2 separate regions of the Homo sapiens genome follow, and region 1 is linked to region 2. The links are contacts of gene promoters, found by promoter capture Hi-C in human tissues and cell types (Jung and others, 2019). All regions are on one chromosome and are shown on one strand. Each heading gives the region's core, a stretch centred on a gene start or on the middle of the fragment in contact. The rest is flanking DNA. Distances are from core to core; before and after follow the strand shown. Region 1 overlaps GOLGA3 (golgin A3). Region 2 holds the start of PGAM5 (PGAM family member 5, mitochondrial serine/threonine protein phosphatase).

Region 1 (5,251 bases), core at 894-3,393, 92 kb after region 2:
CCCTCTTGAGAAATAAAGTTTTAATAAATTTATAATATTTTATCTGGGAAAAAAAAATTCCACAGCTAATTAAAAAATAACAGGCCAGGTGCGGTGGCTCACGCCTGTAATCCCAACACTTTGGGAGGCTGAGGCAGGCATCACTTGAGCCCAGGAGTTGGAGGCCAGCCTGGGCAACATGGCAAAACCTTGTCTCTACAAAAAGTACAAAACTTAGCCGGGCATGGTGGCAAATGTCTGTGATCCCAGCTAGTTAAGAGGCTGAGGTAGGAGAATAGCTTGAGTCTGAGAGGTTGAGGCTGCAGTGAGCTGAGATCGCACCACTGCTCTCCAGCCTGGGTGACGGAGTGAGACACAGTCTCAAAAAAAAACCAAAAACAAAAAGACTGAGGCTGACCAAAGGTACTCTTCAGCATCTCTGAGGTCATCCTAATTAGTCTAGGTGCTGAGACTCGGATCGAGGTTCACTCGAACCATTCGCCTGTCGGTCTGGGCGTCTCCAGCACACGAAGCAGTTGCTGTGGGCCGAGGCACAGGCCTGGACGGACACACACTCCCACATATGCGGGACCAAGCTGGACATGGGCTGTGCCCGCTAACGAGTGGACGGGAGAGGAAAGAGTTTTCCAACAGGACGTAGAAAATGCAAGGCCTGCTGGGAAGACGTGGTCCCCGTGTATCACTGAGGGCTCAGGCAGCAGGGAAAGGAAAAGCTCCAACCGGGAAGAGAACCCCACTGGCACCGCACGCCTGTGAGACATCACAGCAGAGTGGGGAGGCTGAGGTGGGAGGGTCCTGAGACCCAGGCAGATGAGGATTCACAGGCACGCAACACTGTGCCGAGTCAGGAGGCCAGGGTGGGAGGGTCCCGAGACCCAGGCAAATGAGGATTCACCGGCATGTGTCACCATGCCCAGCAAGAGAGGCTTTGGAACTGAAAATGCTGGCAGAGGCTGCCGTGGGACTCCCATGTCAGAAGGTTGGGGGGGGGCCCACGGGACACGTCCTGCATACGACACGTCCTACATGGGACACGGGGTGGGCTGGACAGCAGGTTAAAAACAAAAACATGCCTGTGAACTCTAAAAACAGAAAAATCTCAGGAAAAAGCACCGTTCTACATGAAGACAAGAAGCGTGACCTGCCCTGGAAGGTAGATGTGGGCCGTACCTGGATGTGGGCCATCTCACCCTGCAGCCTGACGCGGGCCTCCTGTGCCAGGGCGAGCTGCTGCTGGTACCACTGCCGGACACTCTGCAGGGACGAGATCTCCGCCTGCGACGCCTTCAGCTTGCTGGTCAGCGTCGTCCGCTCCAGCTGCACCTGCTGAAGCTGGCTCTGCAAGGCTGTCATCTGCTGTCGCAGGTCGTGCACTGAAATGGGGCAAGCACAGCGGCTCAGGCCAGCGACGGCCAACGGGGGAGTCCGCAGCTCCGCGCGTGCGGGACACAAGGCGGGACTCTCAGGGGAGACCAAGAATGAGTCAGTTCCGGTTATTCCCCATAGCTGACTCCATGAAGTCGCCGTGAACACGGCATTAGTGGGCGCTGAGAGATGCCGCTCCTGGCAGAAATGCAGGGTGAGGTTCCTGCAGGCCTCTGCTCACAGCACCTTCACCAGCTCATCAATACATAACCTCTGTTCAGTGTTTCCATTTACGACACCGATCTAATACATAGCGTCGATTCATTCACACCGAGCTCACGGCCAACAGCAACTTGACCAACAAGCCTGAGCAAAGATTCTCTAGGAAATAACAGTGGCCGGACACGGGGGTGCAGGGGGCATGGGGGGTGCAGGGGGCACAGGGGTGCACGCCCAGGAGATCCAGACCAGCCTGGGCAACACAGCGAGATCCCCCACCACCAAAAAAAAAAAATTAGCCAGGCGGGGTGGCATGCATCTGTGGTCCCAGCCACTTGGGAGGCTGAGGCGGGCGGATCCCATGAGCCCAGGAGTTTGAGGCTGCAGTGAGCCACAACTGCACTGCTGCACTCCAGCGTGGGCAACAGAGCAACCCATCTCAAAGACAAATGAATTTTTAAAAACAAAAAGAAAATTTAAAAAAATAGAAACAGGATGAATTGAAAAAAATAAACCAAAAGAAAAAAATGAAGTACATCTTCTCCATGAAACACCTCACATCCTCTCTGTGTTTAAAAACACTAGACAGTGTTGGCCGGGCACAGTGGCTCACGCCTGTAATCCCAGCACTTTGGGAGGCTGAGGCGGGCGGATCACCTGAGGTTGGGAGTTCGAGACCAGCCTGGCCAACATGGAGAAACCCTGTCTCTAATAAAAATACAAAATTAGCCGGGCGCGGTGGCAGACGCCTGTAATACCAGCTACTAGGGAGGCTGAGGCAGGAGAATCGCTTGAACCTGGGAGGCAGAGGTTGCGGTGAGCCAAGATGGCGCCATTGCACTCCAGCCTGGGCAACAAGAGTGAAACTCCGTCTCAAAAACAAAACAAAACAACAACAACAACAAAACAACAAAAAAAAACACTAGACAGTGTTTGGGGCCATCTTTAACTGCAAAATTACCCCCCAAAGCACAAACATGTAAACATGGCCCTGGAAAGAACTCCTGCCTGCAGCCCGGCTGAGCACCAAGGCAGGCAGAGTATCCTGCCCTCCTCAGCGGGCGCCTAGGATGACTCACGTACTCTGCTGCTCCACACGTGTCCATGAATACTGAGTTTGTGGTTCAAACAAATTTAATCAAGTCGGCAAATTCACACTTAGGAAATCTGTGAAAATGGTCATGGACGCCGAGGCTCTGTCTTCGACCCAACGATGTCTACCAGCCATCAACAAACAGCAAGGGTATCCGTGTGGCTAATTCCAACTTAAACCCACCGGTTAGGACTGGGCGGCCTCATCAAAGTTCAGGTTGGTTTTGCCACCCCCCGATCACTGGTCAAGTGAAGCGTGGCAACCCACAGGGCCCCAAACTACTTTAGTGTTGAGAACTTTTTGGGTTTCATGGTTTTTCCTAAGGGATTGGGTATCACGAAATGCTCAAGGACTAAAATATTAAAGCGATTACAAGAGTACTACTGTCTCTCGGCCGGCTTTCTCTTTCCTAGTATTAGAATGTAGCCTCTGTGACGCCAGCTTGTCACCTTCCTCTGTGTCATCCAAGACCCAGTCTCACAGCCTCATAGGCGGACCGGCTCACATGGAGTCAGCCCTCACAGCGGCTGCACCAGGGACCCCTGGCTCAGGAGATCCCAAGACCTGAGAGATGAGCCCACCAAGCGGCCTCCCTGGGAGGACTCTGGACCCGGGTCACTCTACACCCCTCGGGCTTTGTCTTCAATCTTCCCACCCTGCTTCGCCCTCTCCTTCCCACTCCTGTTCACGCTTGCTCTGAGCAGGCCAACCACAGTCTTCTCCGTGTCTGCTGGGCACTGGAGTGTGAGCTCTGGGACTGGCCCGGGCGGGGACTGAGGGGGTGGAAGGCGTGCTGCCAAGCCACATGGAAGCCCGCCGCGGCTTCCGCAATCCACTGCCCTACTTGTACTCTCTGGGCGAGCCCTATAGGGAGGCAGCTGGACCGACGCACTGCATCCAGGGAGAAAAGGTTGCCAGACGGACAGTCAAGGAGCTGTTCTTGAATATTTTAAATGGAATCTGCAATTCTGTGGAATAAGTGGGCAGCTCTATACTCCCAAATAACACTGGACTTTTGAGGCAGGATCACCGCAGATACTCCAGGGTCCAAGGTCAATCTCCAAGACCTAATTCATTCCCCTGGATGTGCACACAAAAATGTACACAATTCCACAAGTTCAACTAAAACTTGTATTTCCTTTAGAAAAGCAGCCTCCTTATGTGTAAACTATAAACCAATGCAACCCTCACAGGCACAGTCACATGCCGACAGAGCTGTCAGCACCAGGGAGGAGGGCGTGGCGAGGACCAGTCAGGGAAGGAGGGCGTGGCGGGGACCAGTCGAGGAAGGAGGGAGCAGCGGGGACCAGTCGAGGAAGGAGGAGGGAGCAGCAAGGACCAGTCAGGGAAGGAGGAGGGCGTGGCGGGGGCCAGTCGAGGAAGGAGGAGGGAGCAGCAGGGACCAGTCAGGGAGGGGAGGGCGTGGCCAGGGCCAGCCTCACCTGTGTTGTCCTTGCTGAGCATGCTCCTCTGCATGTCCTCTACCTTGGCCATAAGCCTCTGGTACTGCTCCTCGGCCACCTGCAAGTCGTTGTTGGACGACGCCAGGCTGGCATTTTTTGCCTCCAGCATGTTCTGCAGGTCAGTCATGGCTCGCTCCAGGTCCCAGCACGACTGCTTCAGGGTGTCCACCTCCGAGCTCAGCGAATCCTGCCGCTGCTGGCTGCTGTGGCTGCACTCCACCTGCGCCTGCAGCTTCGTGCTGAGGGCGGCCAGCTGGGCCTGCAGCTCAGCCTTCTCTTTAAGTGCCTGAAAAGATCCCAACAACCACAATGATTTTAAGAAAACGAGTCACTTCCATCCAGTGTATTAACAGGAACACAACCAGCGAGTCAGTCAGGGCCTGACAGGGGACCCCGAGACCCCCAGGCGCTCTCCCAAGGCCTGACAGAGGACCCCAAGACCCCCAGGCGCTCTCCCAAGGCCTGACAGGGGACCCCAAGACCCCCAGGCGCTCTCCCAAGGCCTGACAGGGGACCCCAAGACCCCCAGGCGCTCTCCCAAGGCCTGACAGAGGACCCTGCCCCGAGACCCCCAGGCGCTCTCCCAAGGCCTGACAGGGGACCCCGAGACCCCCAGGCGCTCTCCCAAGGCCTGACAGGGGACCCCGAGACCCCCAGGCGCTCTCCCAAGGCCTGACAGGGGACCCCGAGACCCCCAGGCGCTCTCCCAAGGCCTGACAGGGGACCCCGAGACCCCCAGGCGCTCTCCCAAGGCCTGACAGGGGACCCCGAGACCCCCAGGCGCTCTCCCAAGGCCTGACAGGGGACCCCGAGACCCCCAGGCGCTCTCCCAAGGCCTGACAGGGGACCCCGAGACCCCCAGGCGCTCTCCCAAGGCCTGACAGAGGACCCCGAGACCCCCAGGCGCTCTCCCAGCACAGCCGTCACAGAAAAAGGCGACTTTCCAAACAGGCCCAGGACGCACAGGGAGCCTGCACTGGTTTTGGGCCCAACTGCACCTGCACAGGGCAGCGCTAGGGCAGGGCTGGGGAAGCACCCGTCTCCTGCGAGGACACTGGAAACGTGTTCAAAACACCAAACGTGTACACGGGTGCACATGTATGCGCACACA
Region 2 (5,293 bases), core at 725-3,224:
CCTGATCTCAGGTGATCTGCCCGCCTCGGCCTCCCAAAGTGCTGGGATTACAGGCATGAGCCACTGAGCCTGGCTGATTTTCTTTTTTTTGAGACAGAGTCTCTGTCACCCAGGCTGGAGTGCAGTGGCACCATCCTGGCTCACTGCAACCTCTGCCTCCCAGGTTCAAGCGATTATCCGGCCTTAGGCTCTCGAGTAGCAGGGACTACAGGCGCGCACCACCACGCCAGGCTTTTTTGTATTTCAGTAAAGACGGGGTTTCACCATGTTGGTCAGGCTGGTCTTGATCTCCTAACCTCGTGATCCGCCCACCTCAGCCTCCCAAAGTGCTGGGATTACAGGCGTGAGGCACTGCGCCCGGCCCAATTTTCCTTTATTTTTTTGAGACAGAGTCTCGCTCTGTCGCCCAGTCTGGAGTGCAGTGGCGCGATCTCGGCTCACTGCAAGCTCCGCCTCCCGGGTTCACGGCATTCTCCTGCCTCAGCCTCCCTAGTAGCTGGGACTACAAGCACCCGCCACCATGCCCTATTTTTTTTTTTTTTTTTTGTATTATTAGTAGAGACGGGTTTTCACCGTGTTAGCCAGGATGGTCTCGAGCTCCTGACCTCGTGATCCGCTCACCTAGGCCTCCCAAAGTGCTGGGATTACAGGCGTGAGCCACCACGCCCGGCCTTCCTTTTATTTTTATTTTTTAAATCTTCCTATCATTTTTAGTAAATGACCTGGAAGCAGCAGACCCAACTGGAAGCGTACAGGTTCAAGAAAGCCTGTTTAAGCAGAAGTCTCAGTATTTCTGTGGAACCATTCAGTTTTTTTATTTTTATTTTTTTGAGACATTGTTTCACTCTGTTGCCCAGGCTGGAGTGCAGTGAGGCAATCTCAGCTCACTGCAACCTCCGCTTCCTGGGTTCAAGCAACTCTCCTGCCTCAGCCTCCTGAGTAGCTGGTATTACAGGCTGGAGCCACCGTGCCCGGCTAATTTTTGTATTTTTAGTAGAGACCGGGTTTCACCATGTTGGCCAGGCTGGTCTCAAACTTCTGACCTCAGGTGATCCGCCTGTCTCGGCTTCCCAAAGTGTTGTGATTACACGCGTGAGCCACCGAGCCCAGGCCCAAGTGATTTTTAAATAGCTTAAATCAGATCATGTCATTTCCCAATTTTAAAATGGGCAGAGATGGTCCAGCAATCCCACTTCTGGGTACAGACGCAAAACAATCAATGAAAGAGAGATCTGCACGCAGCACTGTTCACGCTAGCGAGGAGATGGCAACAGGGCAAGCGTCCAGCAATGGGTAAGCGGTGGGGTCGGTGCACGCAGGCGTCCAGCAATGGGTAAGCGGTGGGGTCGGTCCACCCAGGGAGCGCTGGTCCCCCTGGAAGGAAACCCAGGCTCTAACGCGGTCCCTCTGAGGACCCTGCTAGGCGAAACGCGCCGGCCATAGAAAGACTGTCCCGCAGGAGAGGGCGGTGTTCGGCCCGGGGTTTGAGGGGTCGGGACCAGGAGGAGGGACAGCCCGGCCGAACCTGAACGCACTTCAGGCCGCTTGAACAGCACACGCAGGAACTGCGCCGACGGAAAACTTTACTTCGTGTTCCGCCACCAAAAAAATATCGTTTAAACAAACCTGCGGCAGCTTCCCAGCTCCCTTAAACCAGGATCCCAAGTTCTCCGCGTCTCCGCCCCTGCACCCAGCCTCCGGCCTCGGCAGGCGCTTCCGGTGCGGAACCTTCTGGAAAGTACCGCGCCGCCCTCCCGGCGTCCCCACAACCCCGCCCGCACCTGCGCGCACCGGCGCTCGCGAGCACAAGTGACGGGACTGGAGCGTGGCGCGGCAGGTGGCTCCACGAAAACGCCCCTTCGCGCAAGGCTGCCCCGCGTCCTGCCGCGCCCCAGGAGGCGGGACTTCCGCCCCCGCCGCCCGGAAGCGGCAGCCGGGGGAAGCGTGTTCCTCGCGGAGCGCCGTCGGGGCCGTGGGCGCCTGCGCGGGCCGGCGCGGGAGCAAGCGGCATGGCGTTCCGGCAGGCGCTGCAGCTGGCGGCCTGCGGGCTGGCCGGGGGCTCGGCCGCCGTGCTCTTCTCGGCCGTGGCGGTAGGGAAGCCGCGCGCAGGCGGGGACGCGGAGCCACGCCCGGCTGAGCCGCCGGCCTGGGCGGGGGGCGCGCGGCCGGGCCCCGGTGTCTGGGACCCCAACTGGGACAGGTGCGCGCGGGGCTGTTTGGGGCCGGGGTCGGGATGGGGGTCAGGGCAGGTGTTACCGTTGGGATCGAGATCGGGACCAGGTTTAAGGTTGCGATCGGGTCGGGATCTGGGGTCGCCGTCTGCTTTCCCCAGCGGAGGAGCCGCTTTCCGGGGCCGCTCTGCGCGGAGGGTTCCGGGGGCGGCTGACCCTTCCCGCCGGCTTCTGTGGCCGAGCTCCGTCGCGTCCTCGCCCTTCTCCCCGCCCCTGCGAGTCCGCCCTGGGTGCCATCGCCGGAGCGCGGGCCGGGGCGAGGCTGAGGTGGAAGCCGGGCCTCCTTCAGGGGCGTTTGCAGGAGCGCGCCCGCGAGCTGCGTGCGGTTATTGAGCGTTTGAAATATGGCTCGTGTGATTCCTGAAGGGAATGCTTAGTTTACGTCAATTTAAACTTAACGCAAGCAGGGCCGGGTGCGGTAGCTCAGGCCTGTAATCCCAGCGTTTGGGAGGCTGAGGCCGGAGGATCGCTTGAGAAATTTGAAACCAGCCTGGGCAACATAGTGAGACCCCCATCTCTACAAAAAATACAAAAAAAATTGGCCGAGCGAGGTGGCGCGCGCCTGTGGTCCCAGCTACTCGGGAGGCTGAGGTAGGAGGATCCCTTGAGTCCAGGGGTCCCAGGCTGCACAGTGTGAGCCGAGATCCCGCCACTTCACTCCAGCCTGAGCAACAGAGCCTGTCTCAAAGGAAAAAAAAAAAAAGTAGTGCAGGTTTTTAACATTAGTTATGTGTTGAAATAGTATTTTTAGCATATTGAATTAAAAGTATGATCGAAATTCACCTGTTTCTTTTTAATGTTGCTATTAGAAAATGTATAATTTCACATGTTGCTGGCATTCTGTTTCTGTCGGCCAGGACTGCTCTAGCGGCAAGGATGGTTTTCCCAGTCCTAACTCCTCATTATACTCAGTACTTTGAGAAAGGGGGCACAGAATTATACTACTGTGGTTGCGTTAGGTACTTTATATTAGATTTTTATCTTTTGTTAACCTTATTTCCTCTATTATTAGCATCATACACTAAGCATGGTGTATATATCAAAATTAATGAGCCAAAATAATATAGATTAATTATAGTTATTATATTAGTTTATAATACATTACTGTTAACTAAGGTTCATGTTTCATTGAGATTTCCTCAGCTTTTACCTGCTGTTCTGTTCTAGGGTCCCACATGACAAGTAGTCTTCATGCCTCCGTAGGCATGTTTTGGCTGTGACAATTTCTCAGACTTGTTTTGATGATCATGAGTGTTTGAGGCGTCCTGGTCAGGGGTTTGGTAGAAGGTCCCTCAATTGAGACTTCTCTGAAGGTTTTCTCATGATTAGACTGGAGTTACATTCTTTTTCCTTCTTTTCTTTTTTCTTTTTCCTTGAGACGGAGTTTCGCTCTTGTTGCCCAGGCTGGAGTGCAATGGTGCAATCTCGGCTCACTGCAACCTCCGCCTCCCGGGTTCAAGCAATTCTCCTGCCTCAGCCTCCCGAGTAGCTGGGATTACAGGCACGCGCCATTATGCCCAGCTAATTTTGTATTTTTAGTAGAGACGGGGTTTCTCCATGTCGGTCAGGCTGGTCTTGAACTCCCAACCTTAGGTGATCCTCCCACCTCGGCCTCCCAAAGTGCTGGGATTACAGGCATGAGCCACCATGCCCAGCCTGTTATATTCTTTTTTAAAAATCAGAATTCTGAAAAATCAGAAATTCTGAATCAATATTCTGAATTTCTTAGGTCTTTTTAAGGAAACAGATTTACTCTGCCGTTAAAGAACTTGAAGTAGGCTGGGTGCGGTGGCTCACACCTGTAATCCCAGCATTTTGAGAGGCTGAGGTGGGCGGATCACTTGAGGTCAGGAGTTCGAGACCAGCCTGACCAACACGGTGACACTCTGTATTTACTAAAAATACAAAAAAATTAGCCAGGCATGGTGGCATGCACCTGTAGTCCTAGCTACTTGGGAGGCTGAGGCAGGACAATCACTTGAGCCCAGGAGGTGGAGGCTGCAGTGAGCCCAGATCGTGCCACTGCACTCCAGCCTGGGTGATAGAGTGAAACTCTGTCTCAAAAAAGAAAAAAAAGAACTTGAAGTAGAACCGGGAGCTGAGCCCAGCCTTTCTCTTTTAAGCAGGTGTTCTGTATTTGCTTGTCATGTCTGGGGAGAAGTGAATTGGGCCTTGTGGGTTGGGAAAGACTTATACAGACAGAAGGCATGAGCAACTACAGGAAGGTGCTAGAAGACAGCATGTTTCTTCTTGAGTCTCACCTGTCCACACTTGAAAGTTCCAGAGCCTCATCTGGTGAAATCTCCAGCTTCTTCCTGGAGGTCTCATGCAGTTTACGGCTTCCTGTCTCTGTGCCTATAGCTCCCAAATATTTTCTCTGGCTCAGCCTGACTCCCCCATACCTGCCAATTTGAGTCTTGGCCTGGTTTATGACAGGCCCCCAGGTCGGCGTGGCCCAAACGGAGCCCTTGAGTCACCACCGTGCCCTTCCACAGCTTCCTTTTCCGCCACTGTCTCAGCGAGTAAATACCAGCAGGTTCGACTTTTGCTATTCCCAGCTCTGCCGCGTTGAACTTTTTTTGTTGCTGTTGAGACAGGGTCTCGCTCTGTTGCCCAGGCTGGAGTGCAGTGCAGTGCAGTGGCAAGATCATGGCTCCCTCCTAGGCTCAAGCAATTCTCCCACCTCAGCCTCCTGAGTAGCCGGGACTACAGCTGTGGACCACCTTGCCCGGCTAATTTTTTAATGTTTTTGTAGAGACGGGGTCCCCCTGTGTTGCCCAGGCTAGTCTTGGACTCCTGGGCTCCAGTGATCTGCCCACCTCGGCCTCCCAAAGTGCTGGGATCCACTCTTTTTCAGATTCCAGCAGCTCTGGAACAGACCTTCATAATGGGAATGTTTTCTTCCTCACTGAGTGTTTGTTTATTTATTTATTTTCTGAGGCGGAGTCTCACTCTGTCGCCCAGACTGGAGTGCAGTGGCACGATCTCGGCTCTCTGCAACCTCCGCCTCCCAGGTTCAAGCGATTCTCCTGCCTCAGCCTCCCAAGTAGCTGGGATCACAG

What was found. The method cuts DNA at HindIII sites, captures the fragments that hold promoters and counts their contacts. A contact is called where the count stands out against the background at its distance.
Region 1: a fragment that was not itself captured here is called in contact with the fragment with the promoter of PGAM5 in region 2 in 2 of the 25 tissues and cell types used here (IMR-90 fibroblasts and lymphoblastoid cells).

The regions. Positions count from the first base shown.
Region 1 is chr12:132,800,597-132,805,847 of GRCh38, forward strand. It overlaps GOLGA3 (golgin A3), which reads right to left. Exons shown (of 24, transcript NM_001389683.1): 7 at 4,120-4,426; 8 at 1,171-1,373. Among named protein-coding and RNA genes, the nearest start is that of GOLGA3, 26 kb to the right of the region's middle. The HindIII fragment of the contact is 7,480 bases long and covers 1-5,251 here.
Region 2 is chr12:132,708,868-132,714,160 of GRCh38, forward strand. PGAM5 (PGAM family member 5, mitochondrial serine/threonine protein phosphatase) reads left to right here and starts at 1,975. Exons shown (of 6, transcript NM_001170543.2): 1 at 1,975-2,200. The coding sequence starts at 2,010. LOC124903063 (a long non-coding RNA gene) reads right to left here and starts at 1,728. Exons shown (of 2, transcript XR_007063551.1): 1 at 1,627-1,728. RefSeq lists an enhancer at 1,492-1,541 and silencers at 1,712-2,171, 2,382-2,491. The HindIII fragment of the contact is 20,255 bases long and covers 1-5,293 here.